Linked DNA regions of Homo sapiens: regions 2 and 3 are each linked to region 1. Evidence: promoter capture Hi-C in human tissues and cell types (Jung and others, 2019). All regions are on one chromosome and are shown on one strand. Each heading gives the region's core, a stretch centred on a gene start or on the middle of the fragment in contact. The rest is flanking DNA. Distances are from core to core; before and after follow the strand shown.

The links. Contacts are between HindIII fragments. The study calls those that stand out against the background at their distance.
Region 2: a fragment that was not itself captured here is called in contact with the fragment with the promoter of TRIM71 in region 1 in 1 of the 25 tissues and cell types used here (bladder).
Region 3: a fragment that was not itself captured here is called in contact with the fragment with the promoter of TRIM71 in region 1 in 1 of the 25 tissues and cell types used here (ovary).

What each region holds. Positions count from the first base shown.
Region 1 is chr3:32,815,777-32,820,099 of GRCh38, reverse strand. TRIM71 (tripartite motif containing 71) reads right to left here and starts at 2,103. Exons shown (of 4, transcript NM_001039111.3): 1 at 1,168-2,103. The coding sequence starts at 2,019. RefSeq lists an enhancer at 1,062-1,643. The HindIII fragment of the contact is 18,479 bases long and covers 1-4,323 here.
Region 2 is chr3:32,880,156-32,884,478 of GRCh38, reverse strand. All of the region lies in intron 2 of TRIM71 (tripartite motif containing 71), which reads right to left. Among named protein-coding and RNA genes, the nearest start is that of TRIM71, 64 kb to the right of the region's middle. The HindIII fragment of the contact is 5,549 bases long and covers 1-4,323 here.
Region 3 is chr3:32,860,265-32,864,587 of GRCh38, reverse strand. All of the region lies in intron 1 of TRIM71 (tripartite motif containing 71), which reads right to left. Among named protein-coding and RNA genes, the nearest start is that of TRIM71, 44 kb to the right of the region's middle. RefSeq lists enhancers at 1-524, 3,169-3,773. The HindIII fragment of the contact is 7,233 bases long and covers 1-4,323 here.

The DNA of each region.
Region 1 (4,323 bases), core at 854-3,353:
GTCTACAGGTAGATCGCCTAAGTTACCGACCCCCTCGGCAAGAGCCCGCTTCTCAAGACTTTTGGCCTGCCTTCATTGGGTTCGGGGGAGAAGACGACACTCGCATAATACCAAAGTGGAAAGGAGAAAGGGGTCACACTGTGTGAAAAGCAAATGTTTACTCGACAGCCCAAAGGGCGAAATCGAGCCCGAGGGTTGCAATGTAGCCCTAAAAGCCTTTGCACTCCGGCGTTCCAGCAGCGTACGGCTGCCTTGGTCTTTTCCAAGGAAGTCGAGACCCTGGTTGAGCCGGGTGGATACCTCCTAACCAGGGAAACCGGTTCCTGTAGGGCTTGGAGTCGGGGCAGGCGGGCGCGGCCCAAGAGACTCAGGCTGGTGAAGGTAACGTCGTCCCTTTATTCCGCTTCTATCTCGGGGTGCAGCCGTGGGCCCACGAACGGCGATTTCACGCTAGGAGAATTCAGGGGCCAGAACACGCATTTTAAACAATATAGGAAGCAGCCGCAGAGAGAGAAGGGCTTAAGACTGGGGGCCCTTGGCCCTCAAAGATCCACAGACGCTCCCACTCTTACCCAACATAAGGAGGCAAGGACTGCCATGCTGTCCCAACAACAAAAAAACCAGTCTTCCCCTCACAAGTGCGCACGTGGAAACCAGGTCTACGGAGGCACACAAACTCCACGCACTCACCCACACAACCATCTCTTCCGGGCTCACGCCCCATTTTAAAGGCAACAATCTATGAGTTTTCCAAACAAAAATCTGAAAATAAAGGAGCGCCTTCTCAGCACGTTGGGAGGCCTCTGGTGTGCCCACAAGAGCAGGAGCAGGCCACGTCTACACAAACACACACACCTATCTCCTCCCAACTCACGCCTAACTCAAGACGATTGCCGCGTTTTGCCACACAGAAATTAAAATCAGAAAAGGGAGGACCCCACGCTATGGGATTTTTCGGAGCCCCTCGCGACACGTACACAGAATCCACTTCCACATACTTCCCAGGTCATGATCTACTTTGGTAGCAAGGACTGCCACGTAGCCAAAGGAAATACAAACCAAATCCGGAGAGGGCCTCCTCCCCTCGCTGTGGGACCGGCCGGGAAACGCTGTTGAGCACACACGCAGTTATCCGATGGACACAAACACACGCCCCCACGCACTCACCTCGTCGTCGTGGTGCTGGCAGAAGCCGAGGCGCTCGGGAAACACTGAGAGGATGGAGAAGGGCGGGCCGGGAAAGGGCGGCCCGAGCCCGAGCTGCTGCGCCGCTGCTGCGGCACCGGGACCCGGCGGGCCGCGCTCGATGTAGTGGTCCTTGGTGAGGCGCACGCGCTGGTGCGCTCGGACGCAGTTGTCGCACAGGTGCTCCTGGCAGTCGAGGCAGCGCGAAGAAGCTGCGTTGCCCTCATCGCACGAGCTGCAGCCGTGAGGACGGCGGAGCAGCAGCGCCGACGGGGAAGCGGCAGGGCCGCCGGGTGCCGAGCGGGAAGGCGCGGGCGGCTGCGGCGCCTGCGGGAGTGGCGGCGCGGAGGCGGACGCGCGCGGGTGCGCGTGGTGAGCGTGGTGCCGGTGGTTGCTGTGGCCGCCCGCTCCCGCCGGAGCGCCGGCGCGCCCGTTCTTGGGCGGCGGCTCGTCGGCAGTGGCCACCACCGCGTCGAGCAGGTTGCTAAGCAGGAAGGCGGACGAAGGCAGCGCGTCCATACCCGCCGCCTCGGCTAGCACTACTTTCTGGTCGCACACGGGGCAGCGCAGCTTGAGCGGCTCTCCCGCCGCGCCGCCGCCCGCCGCCGGCAGCCGGTGCGCCTCGAGGCAGGGGCGGCAGAAGGCGTGCAGGCAGGGCAGGACGTGTAGGCGGCGCGCCGCCGCCCCAGGGCCCCCGCCGCCGCCCCCCGACGACGTGGACGTCTGCGAGGAGGACGACGACGCGGACGAGTTGGAGGAGAGCGGCGCCGGCGAGCCGCACATCTCCTTGCACAGCAAGCAGATCTGGAAATCGGTCTCGGGGAACGAAGCCATTTGCAACCCAGCCCGGAGGAGGGAGGAGACCAGAGAGGAAGAGGAGGAGGAGGAGGAGAGAGCGGACGAGGTGGGTGGGGGAGTCACCGACTCACTCAGAAAAATGCATCGATTAGGCCTGCAATCCGGGAGCCGGCACCAGAGCAGCGCTGCCCGCTTGGCCTCGCCACGTCCGGCCCGAGCGCTGCCACCCCCGACACTGCAGGCATTAAATGCCACTATCCAGCGGCGACACAGATTCCTCCGGATAACTTGGGGGCCGCGTGCCTTCCGAAGAGGGAACGCCGGAACAAGCCCCGACAGGCGAGGGGCGAGCGGGGGCAGGGAGGTCGGAAGACTCCCTGGAGCAGCTGAGGCTTCCCTTCGCGATAGACGAAAGGAGTTCCCAAAAGGAGAGTTCGCTGTGCAGTCCCAGTCCCGGCGAGAGCAGAATTTGGTTCCACGAGTATTTGGTGCGTTGCTTTTCTTTAAACGGATTTAGTCTGTTCTTGGGAGGGGAAGGAGCCCCAAACTAGTAAAGGCGGGAGCGGTGCGTCGCCAAGCCGGTGTCTCCCCGCGCGACGTCGGCTGCCCCGCCGCATGACGCGGCGGCCAGGGGCTCCTGGGTGGCCCGGCGTGCTGCGCTTGGGGCTTGCGCACAGCCAGGCACGGCCTCCCCTGCAGGGCGGTGGGCCCCGCAGCAGCTGCAGCTCGTGGTGGCCCAGCCGCGGCCGCACGCGTGCAGTACGCACGCGCGTCCCACGCGCCTCGAGTCTTCCGCGCGCCTGCCCAGCCGGGCCGCGGCTGCCCGCGCTTAACACGCACGCGCGCCCCACGCGGCCCGGAGCCCTCGTGCCCCCGCCTCGCCTGGCCTGGGCGCCTCACGCACGCTCCTTCCCCTTCGGCTTAGCGCGCGGGGCCGCAGGTCCCCGCGGGCCGCCCTGAATTATTCATCGGCAGGAAGATATTAGATGTACCCGCTCCGCGCGGGCCGTCGTGCAATGCTATCCGAGCTCCGCGCGCGCCCTGCGCCCCTCCTCCTCCTCACGTCCGTCCTCTCTGAAACCTTGGCAGAGAAGGGGGATCACATTTCCTTTGTCATCGGGCCATTTCGCCCTCGCCTTGGTCCCCCCTCCGATCCCGAGCCTCGGGGATGGAGGCTCCTCTCGGGCGCGCTGGAATCAGTGGAACCGGCAACAGCCCCGCGCGGCGAGCTCGGGAGCCGCGTGGCCAACGCCGCCGGCTCGCGCCCGCGTCATCTTCTTTCTGAAAGGAGTCGCCGATCCGGACGCGGGTGGCCTCGGCCGCGCTGCGCCTACCGAGCTTTGCTCCCGCCGTGCCCCGGCCTCCTGGGGCTTTGCACAACTCCCCCAGTTCGGGTTGCGTGCGCGCGCGCGCGCCCCCTCTTTCTCTGCTTTGCCGCCTCTGCCTCCTCCTCCTCCTCCTCTTCTCTTCAGTACGCCGGTTATTGGGACTGATCGGAATTCGGAATCCTTTTAATCTCCAAAGGAGCAAACTCACTTCCGCCCGAGTGCTGGGAGGGGGCTGGGGGAGGGGAGGCAGGGGAGGGGGCTCCAGGCAAACAGGAAACATTAGCCCTCTCAGCACGGCCCGCTTTTGTGTGCTCCCTCCCTCCGCCCTCCAACCTCCTCCCTTCTCCCGGCCGCTGGGGAGATGAACGCCCCCGGGCTTCAGTGTGACGACCTTTGAAACCTTCTGAGCGAGGAGCAGAGAACGACTCTTCCGTTTATTTAAAAAAGAAAAGAAAAGATTTCATTCTGAATCCCTGGCTCAACCGAGACATATCCACTGCCCGGGAGATCTCGGTTTTTACCCACCTTTTCTTTTTTTCTTTTTACGTTTTTTAAAGAACTCTGCATATCTGATCACCAAAACATCACACGGTGGTGTGCAGTTGGATGCATGGAATTAAGCGAGTCTGAATTCTGATCGGCAGAGGGGCCAGAGTTCCCTTTTGAGTTTTAATGGGGCTGGGGGGAAGCAGGGGGCAGCTGTTCTGGGGAGGCGACCTGGTGATGGCCCCGCAGCCATCTGGGTGGTGCCCGAGGCCGCCTGAGCGGTTCTGGGAGAGGAACTTGCATGGCCCTGGAGAGAGACTCACTTGGAAGGGCAAGGAGGGCCACTTACCAGGATATAGGTAGTATCTGGCCTGGAGGCCAACGGGGTAAAAATTGTCCCCTTCTTAACACTATCTCGCTGTTAGTGATATCCTATTTAACCTGGTACAGGCAACAACCTGATGACTCAAAAACATCGTGTTGGGAGAGAGAAGCCAAACACAAAAGAGTTCATACTGTGTGATTC
Region 2 (4,323 bases), core at 1,322-3,821, 64 kb before region 1:
TGATCTGCCCACCTAGGCCTCCAAAAGTGCTGGCATTATAGGCATGAGCCACTGCGCCTGGCCTGTTCTGGGTATTTCATATAGATGGCATCATCATACAATACACGATCTACCTTATTTTTATGAATATTCTTCCTGCCCAACAGTTTGACTTGCTCTGGATGACAGCTGACACATTCATGGCATGCAAGACACGCTCAAAGGTGCAGCCCCAAAAACACCCATGGAAGCCAGGCACAGAGGCTAATGCCTGTAATCCCAGCACTTTGGGAGGCCGAGGCAGGCAAATCACTTGGGCTCAGGAGTTTAAGACCAGCCTGGCCAACATGGTGAAACCTGGTCTTTATTTAAACAAAACAAAACAAAAAAGCACACCACCCGTGACTCCAGTGGTTAGGTGCCACACTGCATTCTCTGCCTAAGAGGATCCTGTGTGACCTAAGGATCCACTGAGCTGATTCACAGGGGAACTGGGTAGATCCAGAGGGCTCACAGGATATCCACAGCCTGGAATGCTTCACCCTAAATTTCCAAACCCAGTTCTGATGCCACTTCCCTTCTGAAGCTGGAAGGGAACAGCACATTTCTGTAATGTTTCTGCTCCACCTTTACAATCCTGTCTCAAGTACCATTACATATCAAAGCAGGAGCTAAGTACAAAGCCCATGATACTTAAGCCACCTGGGATTTAGCAGAACAATTAGCAGAACAATCTATAAATTTTATATTTGCACATCTCTAGCCATAACCATGTTTACCAAAGCACTAGGTAGCTGTGTTGGGTTAAATATTGTCCCTCCAAACATCAGGCTCAACTAAATGTGGGCCAGGATGTGACCTTGTGTGGAAATAGGGTCTTTGTAGATATAATTAGCTAAGATGAGGTTATAGTAGATTAAGTTGAATCTTAAATCCCAAAACTGATGTTCACAGAGGGTCATGTGCAGACACAGATACAGAGAACAAAGCCACGTGAAGACCAAAGCAGAAACGGAAACTGATGCAGGTACAAGCCAAGGATGCTGGCAACTGCCAAAAGCCAGGATGAGGAAAGCAATGAGTCTTCCTGAGGGCCTTCAGAGGGAGCATGGTCCCGACACCTTGATCTTGGCCTTCTGGCCTGCTGTTTTAAGTAATCCAGTTTATGGTAAATTGTTACAACAGACCCGATAAACTAATACAGAAGCCAATAAAGTGAAGCAGACAGATATTACATCCACATTACCTAAAAGTTAAAAAATCAGAATGGCCAAGCAAATGAGCATGCATATAAGCAGGTATCATAATAGCATTGATACATTTTTAGTATCTCACGCTGTCAGGATTCATCCAGGGAAAAAGAGAGAAAGCGAGAGAGAGCAAGAGAGCTCCCTAGACATTTAAACAGAATTTAGCATAGGGAAATGGTTAAACAGGTATGGGAGAACTGCTGGGGCAAAGAGCACACTGAGGCAGAGAGTACCTGCAGAAGCAGCTTCTTCTGCTTTGTCTGAGAGAACAAAGGAAAGAAAGCTGTGGTTACAAGAACCCAGAATAAGATGGTGAGGTTACATCCAGCTAATTCTGAGAGTGGCAAGATCTGAAATTGAAACCAACTTCTGCTGTCAGGGTGAAAAAGAATTGCTATTAAAAATTGGGGCCGGGTACGGTGGCTCACACCTGTAATCCCAGCACTCTGGGAGGCAGAGGCAGGAGGATAGCTTAAGCCCACGAGTTTGAGATCAGCCTGGCCAAGAGTGAGACCCCGTCTCTACAAAAAAATAAATTAGCCAGGCATGGTGGCGCTTGTGTATAGTCCCATCTACTTGGGAGGCTGAGCTGGAAGGATTGCTTGAGTCTTGGGAGATCGAAGCTGCAGCAAGCTGTGACTGCACCACCGCGCCCCCCAGCCTGGGTGACAGAGCAAGACTCTGTCTCAAAACAAATATATAATATGATAATAATATAAGTAATATGAATTGGAAGAAAAAGGGAAGAAGTCCTTTTCCCATACATGTAGTTTGAAGAGTCACAGCCCCAGTGTCACATGGCAAGAGTGTGACAGGGTTAGAGCCCAAAGAGTAGAACTTAGTAACCGGCACCCTCTATATTTTTAGATGTGTTGGTTATTAATTAGCACAACTGGTGTCCAAGCTAATATTTCACCAAGGCAACCAAACCTATGTCTGTAACATTTCTTAATCCTTCCTCAATAGAAAGCAGAGGTGGCAAACTGCTTTCTATTAATATTAATGTCATACTACTTGCCAAATTGATTTTTTTACATCTAACTTCTATCATATGTTAGAAGAAAAAAAAAGACCCAGCCTGGGCTACAAGAGCAAAACTCTGTCTCAAAAAATAAAAAAACAAAAACACCACTCCCTTTGCATAGGAATGGGTGTACTACCCTACTCACCTCTTCCCCTAGTCTCCTAGCCAGGCTTATCGCTTATCCCTCATGTCTGGAACTCACATTTTATGACAAAAATTGCTTCTTCCATTTTTCAAACAGGTTCAAAGGGGGATTCAAAGCTTTTGTTGCAATTTTAATAATCAGCAAGCATGCAAAGATATTCCTTGGGCTGAGAGTCACAAAAGCCCTACCCAATGCATAGTGGAAAAATAGGTCTTTCCCTTCCAAATTACGCACGACCCAGCCAAGCATGGCATTCCAAGATGTGCAGACCAGGACTTATTGAACTAGTTCCCAACCTCTAACAGCAGGGCATCTGAAGGACATACAGGGCAGATAGGTTGGGGGAAATGACAATGTAGAAAGGCTGGGTAAACTTCCAAAACAGATATATACATTTCACAGTAAGAAAAGAGAAATCACCCAACAAGCATGGTGCTTGAGAGAAAATTTAACCATCTTTGGGATGTTAACAGATCTAATTAAACATTTAAAAGTTGAGGGTCTACATTTGGACTGGCAAATCAGTGCACTTTCCAGCTGACTACTGAGTGGCAGTCAGTCAGCATGGTGGAGACTTGGGCCAAATCTGGCTCTCAAGGGAAAGAATATAGATATCGATCAGTGATGCCAACTGTGGAGAACAGTGGTATTTAAAGAGCCCAACGGTCAGAAGGTAAGAGAATGCAATCATCACCCATACACTTGTAGGCGACCATACTGGGTATGCGGAGCTACTGTGGTGCACTCTAAAATGTAATTTTTGGCCAGGCGCAGTGGCTCATGCCTGTAATCCCAACACTCTTGGGAGGCTGAGGCAGGTGGACTGCCTGAGGTCAGGAGTTGAGACTAGCCTGGCCAACATGGTGAAACCCCGTCTCTACTGAAGATACCAAAATTAGCCAGGTGTGGTGACGGGTACCTGTAATCCCAACTACTCAGGAGGCTGAGGCAGGAAAATCACTTGAACCCGGGAGGCAGAAGTTGCAGTGAGCCAAAATCGTGGCACTGAACTCCAGCCTGGGCAACAGAGTGAGACTCCACCTCAAAAAAATATATATATATACATATATAAAATTTTCATCACATCTTTCTCTGAATCTATAATTCATCTCTAAATTGTCCGTGGGTTTCTTCCTTTGTTAGTTGTATGTAAAATAAATGTACACCTTACAATTAATGGCATCTTAAATGTGATGAAATATAGTAATTGAAGAATCAAAACTTTCTTATGTAGAAACCAACTATTCCTGATCCTGTTTATCGCTATCCCCAGCAAATCAGTTTACCTTGTGGAATCCTCTAATAACATACATGACCAAAATGTCATATATTCAAGAAAAGCAGCAAAGTGAAAGTAACAGAATGTTCAAAAAAGCAATAAAAATGAGTGGTTGCCCCCTAAATGCCCTACAACAGTGATGAGGTGCTACATCTTCCATGCTGTTCTTGTTATGGCCAACTCTAGACACTCACCAGGGTAGATTCTCTTTATAGGACAATCCAGAATTAACTCAAGGATTTGTATCTGGAGCTCTTTCCAGAACCAAGACTCTCAGGACAAGTTGTGAGTCTCTTTAAAGTCATAAGTTAGGAACTCTGATTCACAGTTAACTGAACATCTGACATCTGCAATTTAATACCAGACATTCAATGGGGAAATATACTTTCAGTATACATATCCTCCTCATCTGGAAATGATTTATTAGATGGTTACAACAATCACACAAACTGATCTTAAAAATAAATGGATGAGGCTGGGTGCAGTGGCTCAAGCCTGTAATCCCAGCATTTTGGGAGGTGGAAGCGGATAGATCACTTGACACCATGAGTTTGAGAAGACCAGCCTGGGCAACATGGTGAAACCCCATCTCTACTAAAAACACAAAAATTAGCCAGGCGTGGTGGTACAGGCCGGTAATCCCAGC
Region 3 (4,323 bases), core at 975-3,474, 44 kb before region 1:
TCTCGAATAAACAACACGTCCTCCACACTCTGCCTCTGGCGAACCCAGCGGGCACCAGCTCCCTAGGCCCTTTGGACTTACTTGACTCCCAGATCAGAATCTGCTTTTTGGGCTGGCACCTTGTTATCTTCACCCACCCCACACAGCTTGAGGCAAACTCATGGCCCACCAGCCCACCACCTTCAGTTTCTCACACATTTCCTGAAGGCTCTGCAATAAAAGGGCATCTTCCTAAGAGTGCCACACCTGTGCTTGGGGTGTCCTCTAACAGATCCAAGTTACACTACACAATACTCAGTGACAGCTTAGAAAATGCCAGAGTTGTGTTTTGGATTACTGCCTCCCAAATATAGTTTTGAACAAATAAAAACTTGATAGCTACTCAGAAGGCTGAGGTGGGAGGATTGCTTGAGCCCAAGGAGTTCAAAGTTACATCAAAGTTACAGCAAGTTATGATCATTCCACTGCACTCCAGCTTGGGCAACAGAAACCCTGCCTCAATCAATCAGTCTTGGATGTTTAAAAGTAAAAACAAAACTTCCACATCAACATACACCGTGGTACATACACACAACAGGATGTTTGTCAGTAACTACACACAAGAAGTTCAGGCGTGGTGGCTCATGCCTGTAATCCCAGCACTTTTGAGAGGCCGAGGCGGGTGGACCATTTTTAGTCAGGAGTTTGAGACCAGCCTGGCCAACATAGTGAAACCCCATCTCTACTAAAAATACAAAAGTTAGCCAGGCCTGGTGGTGGGCACCTGTGGTTCCAGCTACTCAAGAAGCTGAGGCAGGAGAATTGCTTGAACCCGGGAGGCAGAGGCTGCAGTGAGCCAAGATCTCACCACTGCACTCCAGCCTGGGTGACAGAGGAGACTCCGTCTCAAAAAAACAAAAACAAAAACAAATAAATAAATATACCTACATACAAGAAGCTTAAAGGCACTAAGACTGGTGAAAAAGCTAAAATCAAGAGAATATATTGCATAACTCCATTTATTAATATATGAAGATAAAACTCAACGTGGAAGAAAACAACAGTAGTTGCAGGTGAGAACGAGGGTGAACTAGAGGGACCCCAAGGGAATCCTTCTGGAATTAGAGAAAATCTATATCTTGATGCGAGGATTGATTACACAGGTATATATAAATCATCAAAAGTCAAAATGTACACTTAGCCCGGCCAACAAAGACCCTGTCTCTACAAAAGAATTAAAAATTAACCAAGCATGGTGGGGCATGCCTATAGTCACAGCTGAGGCAGAAGGATGGCTTGATGAGCCCAAGAGTTCGAGGCTGCTGTGAGCCATGTATGCACCACCGCAGTCAGCCTGGCTCAAGCCAGACACAGCAAGACCAGCTCCAAAAAAAAAAAAAAAAAAAAAAAAAAGGTTCAATTAATACTCCTCCCTCCCAAAAGTGAGGGGAGAATCCTTCCACTGACAACCTAAGTTGTTGAGGGGGTGATGCTTGGAGCTTGGCCACAGCGCAGCACTCTTCATAGCTAAGGACCTAATAAAATACTCATGGAGCCCATAAATGAGTTAACTCCAATGGCCCCACATAATTTACTTCTAATAGGTTGCTACCATTTTTTCCACAATGTTCCCATTAGGTATTATTTTTCCTCTGCCCTCTACTATAAATATTATCTTAAGTTATATCTCGCAAGAGGCAACCTCCCTGGAGGTTTTGAAAAAATTAGAACCCTGAGTCCCGATTTACAGCACCACAGGCGGCCAGCGGTCATACAAAGCCATATGAAATCATTAGTGTCCCAGCTGCCGCCCCGGCATGCATCTGACCTCTGATGTATTAATGAGTGGCCCATGCAGCTTCCAGCAGCAAATAAAAGAGATTTGTTCCAACACTGAGATCACTGCCCATGTAAATTATATATTTTTAAACTGGACACGAAAGACAGATTTGGACGTAGACACACAAGTTTTCCAGCTGCCTCCAAGGTTGCAAAAGCAAGGCAAGGTTTTAATCTGTTGTGCTATGGACAAGAGTCAGTGGTACTTTGGGGCTGACATTTAAAAAATGGTCAGACTCTGTAGGTGGCCATGTAACTCAGTCCTCGCCTCTTAAACAGCGGGCAACAGTGTACACCTGAAACCCTTTCAGTTCCTAAAGAAGCCAAGTAGGTTTCAATCACCCATGTGGCTGAGATGGTGTAGAAAGGCAGAATTTTTTAAAGCAAGGGAAGGCACTCATCACCTGGGTAAAACTGTCCTGAGAAGAGAAGCAGAAATACAGACTCAGATGAGAATACACTAGTAATAAAAACTGTTAGTAAATATTACTAGTCACATTTTCTACCTTTAACACAACCGAGCACTTCCCTCCTCTCTGCAAGTTCCATCATCTTGTGTCCTTGTCCCCTGCATTACTTAGTTGCCTTCTGTCTTGATTAGGGTTAGTGAATCAAGGTTACACTGTCCTATTGGTTGATAAGGCCTAGAGCCAGTTACCTTTCTAGGCAATGCCTCCCACCTGCTCCCCTCCTCCCCCAAAAATCAAGCAGTTAAGATATTACTATAGAAATTTTGTTTTAATACAGAGTTGTTCACAGGCAGTAATTATTTTAAATTGGGAAGTGACCAATCCTGGGAAGCAGTGGATAGCACACACGTGGCCTCTGTGAATTCTCTGAATGCCAAGAAGTACCCGTGCTGCACTGGGATTGCCGAGGCTCAGGTGGGGTGTGGGGGTGTGGAAGAGTGGGTGCTGGGGCATGTCTGTGAATTACGGAGATTTGTCTCCAAGTCCCAAGTCTGGGCTCTTCTATGGCATTCCCCAAAACTGCACCTGTCAAGGAGAGTATTAAAGAGAGAAGCCAGACACACTCTCCCAGTACCTCATCTTCCCCCCGACATTCCAGCAATTACAAGAGCCTTTCTTGACATCTTTCTCTGTAAGTAAAAGGCAAAATGAGCGAGAGCAGAGCAAACATCTTCAGTGCAAAAGCAGGTGAAAGAGGGATGCTTAGTCTTATAAAGAAAATGATTTTTATTTTTTTGTAGAGACAGGAACTCACTTTGTTGCCCAGGCTGGTCTTGAACTCCGGAGTGTTCCTCCCACCTTGGCCTGCCGAGGTGTTTGGATTACAGGCGTGAGCCACCGCGCCTGGCCAACAATTTATTTATTTATTGGCTGGGCACGGTGGCTCATGCCTGTAATCCCAGCACTTTGGGAGGCCAAGGTAGGTGGATCACCTGAGGCCAGGAGTTCGAGACCAGCCTGGCCAACATTGTGAAGCATGCCTGTAATCCCAGCTACTCAGGAGGCTGAGGCAGGAGAATTGCTTGAACCTGGAGGCGGAGGTTGCAGTGAGCCGAGATCGTGCCACTGCACTCTGGCCTGGGCAACAGAGACTCCATCTCAAGAAAAAAAAAAAGATTATTTACTTTATTTTATTGAGACAGTCTTGCTCTGGCTGGAGTACAATGACACGATCTCAACTCACTGCAACCTCTGCCTCCCGGGATCAAGCGATTCTCCTGCCTCAGCCTCCAGAGTAGCTGGGACTACAGGCACGTGCCACAACACCTGGCTAATTTTTGAATTTTCAGTAGAGATGGGGTTTCAGCATGTTGGCCAGGCTGGTCTCAAACTCCTGCACTCAAGCGATCTGCCTGCCTCGGCCTCCCAAAGTGCTGGGATTACAGGCATGAGCCACCGCGCCCAGCCCCACGATTTATTTTTAAAAACCCTTTTCAAGTTAGTGTTTGTAGCCTCTACTCCAAAAGTGGGAAACCTACCCTGCAGACACCTCTACAAATGTCAAAGGGGCAACAGGCCAGCCACGCAGAGCCCAGGCCAGGCCAGGCAGCCTGCTTTAGGAGCTTCTGAGATGGAAGCTACCTATCTGTCCCCTACACAGGGGAGTAACCTGAGGAAGGTGGGCCCCACGGCTGTGATCTAGGCAGTTACTGGGCAGGTTAAGAGTCGTCCCACCTCCCCAAGAGAAACTCCAAACTGTAGAGAGCAATGGTGATCTTCTCTTACCAACCATCAATAATCTAGAGGGTCCTGGGTAGAGCAATGAGGAGAGTAGGGCAACTGAAATGAGGCATAAAAGGCAAAATACCTCAAATTTAAAGGCCTTTTTAAAGAAAGGTGTGAGGGGTCAGGTGCAGTAGCTCACGTCTGTAATCCCAGCACTTTGGGAGTCCGAGGCAGGTGGATCACCTGAGGTCAGGAGTTCGAGACCGGCCTGGCCACAGCGAAACCCTGTATCTATTAAAAATACAAAATATAGCTGGGCGTGGTGGTGGGCGCCTGTAATCCCAACTACTTGGGAGGCTGAGGCAGGAGA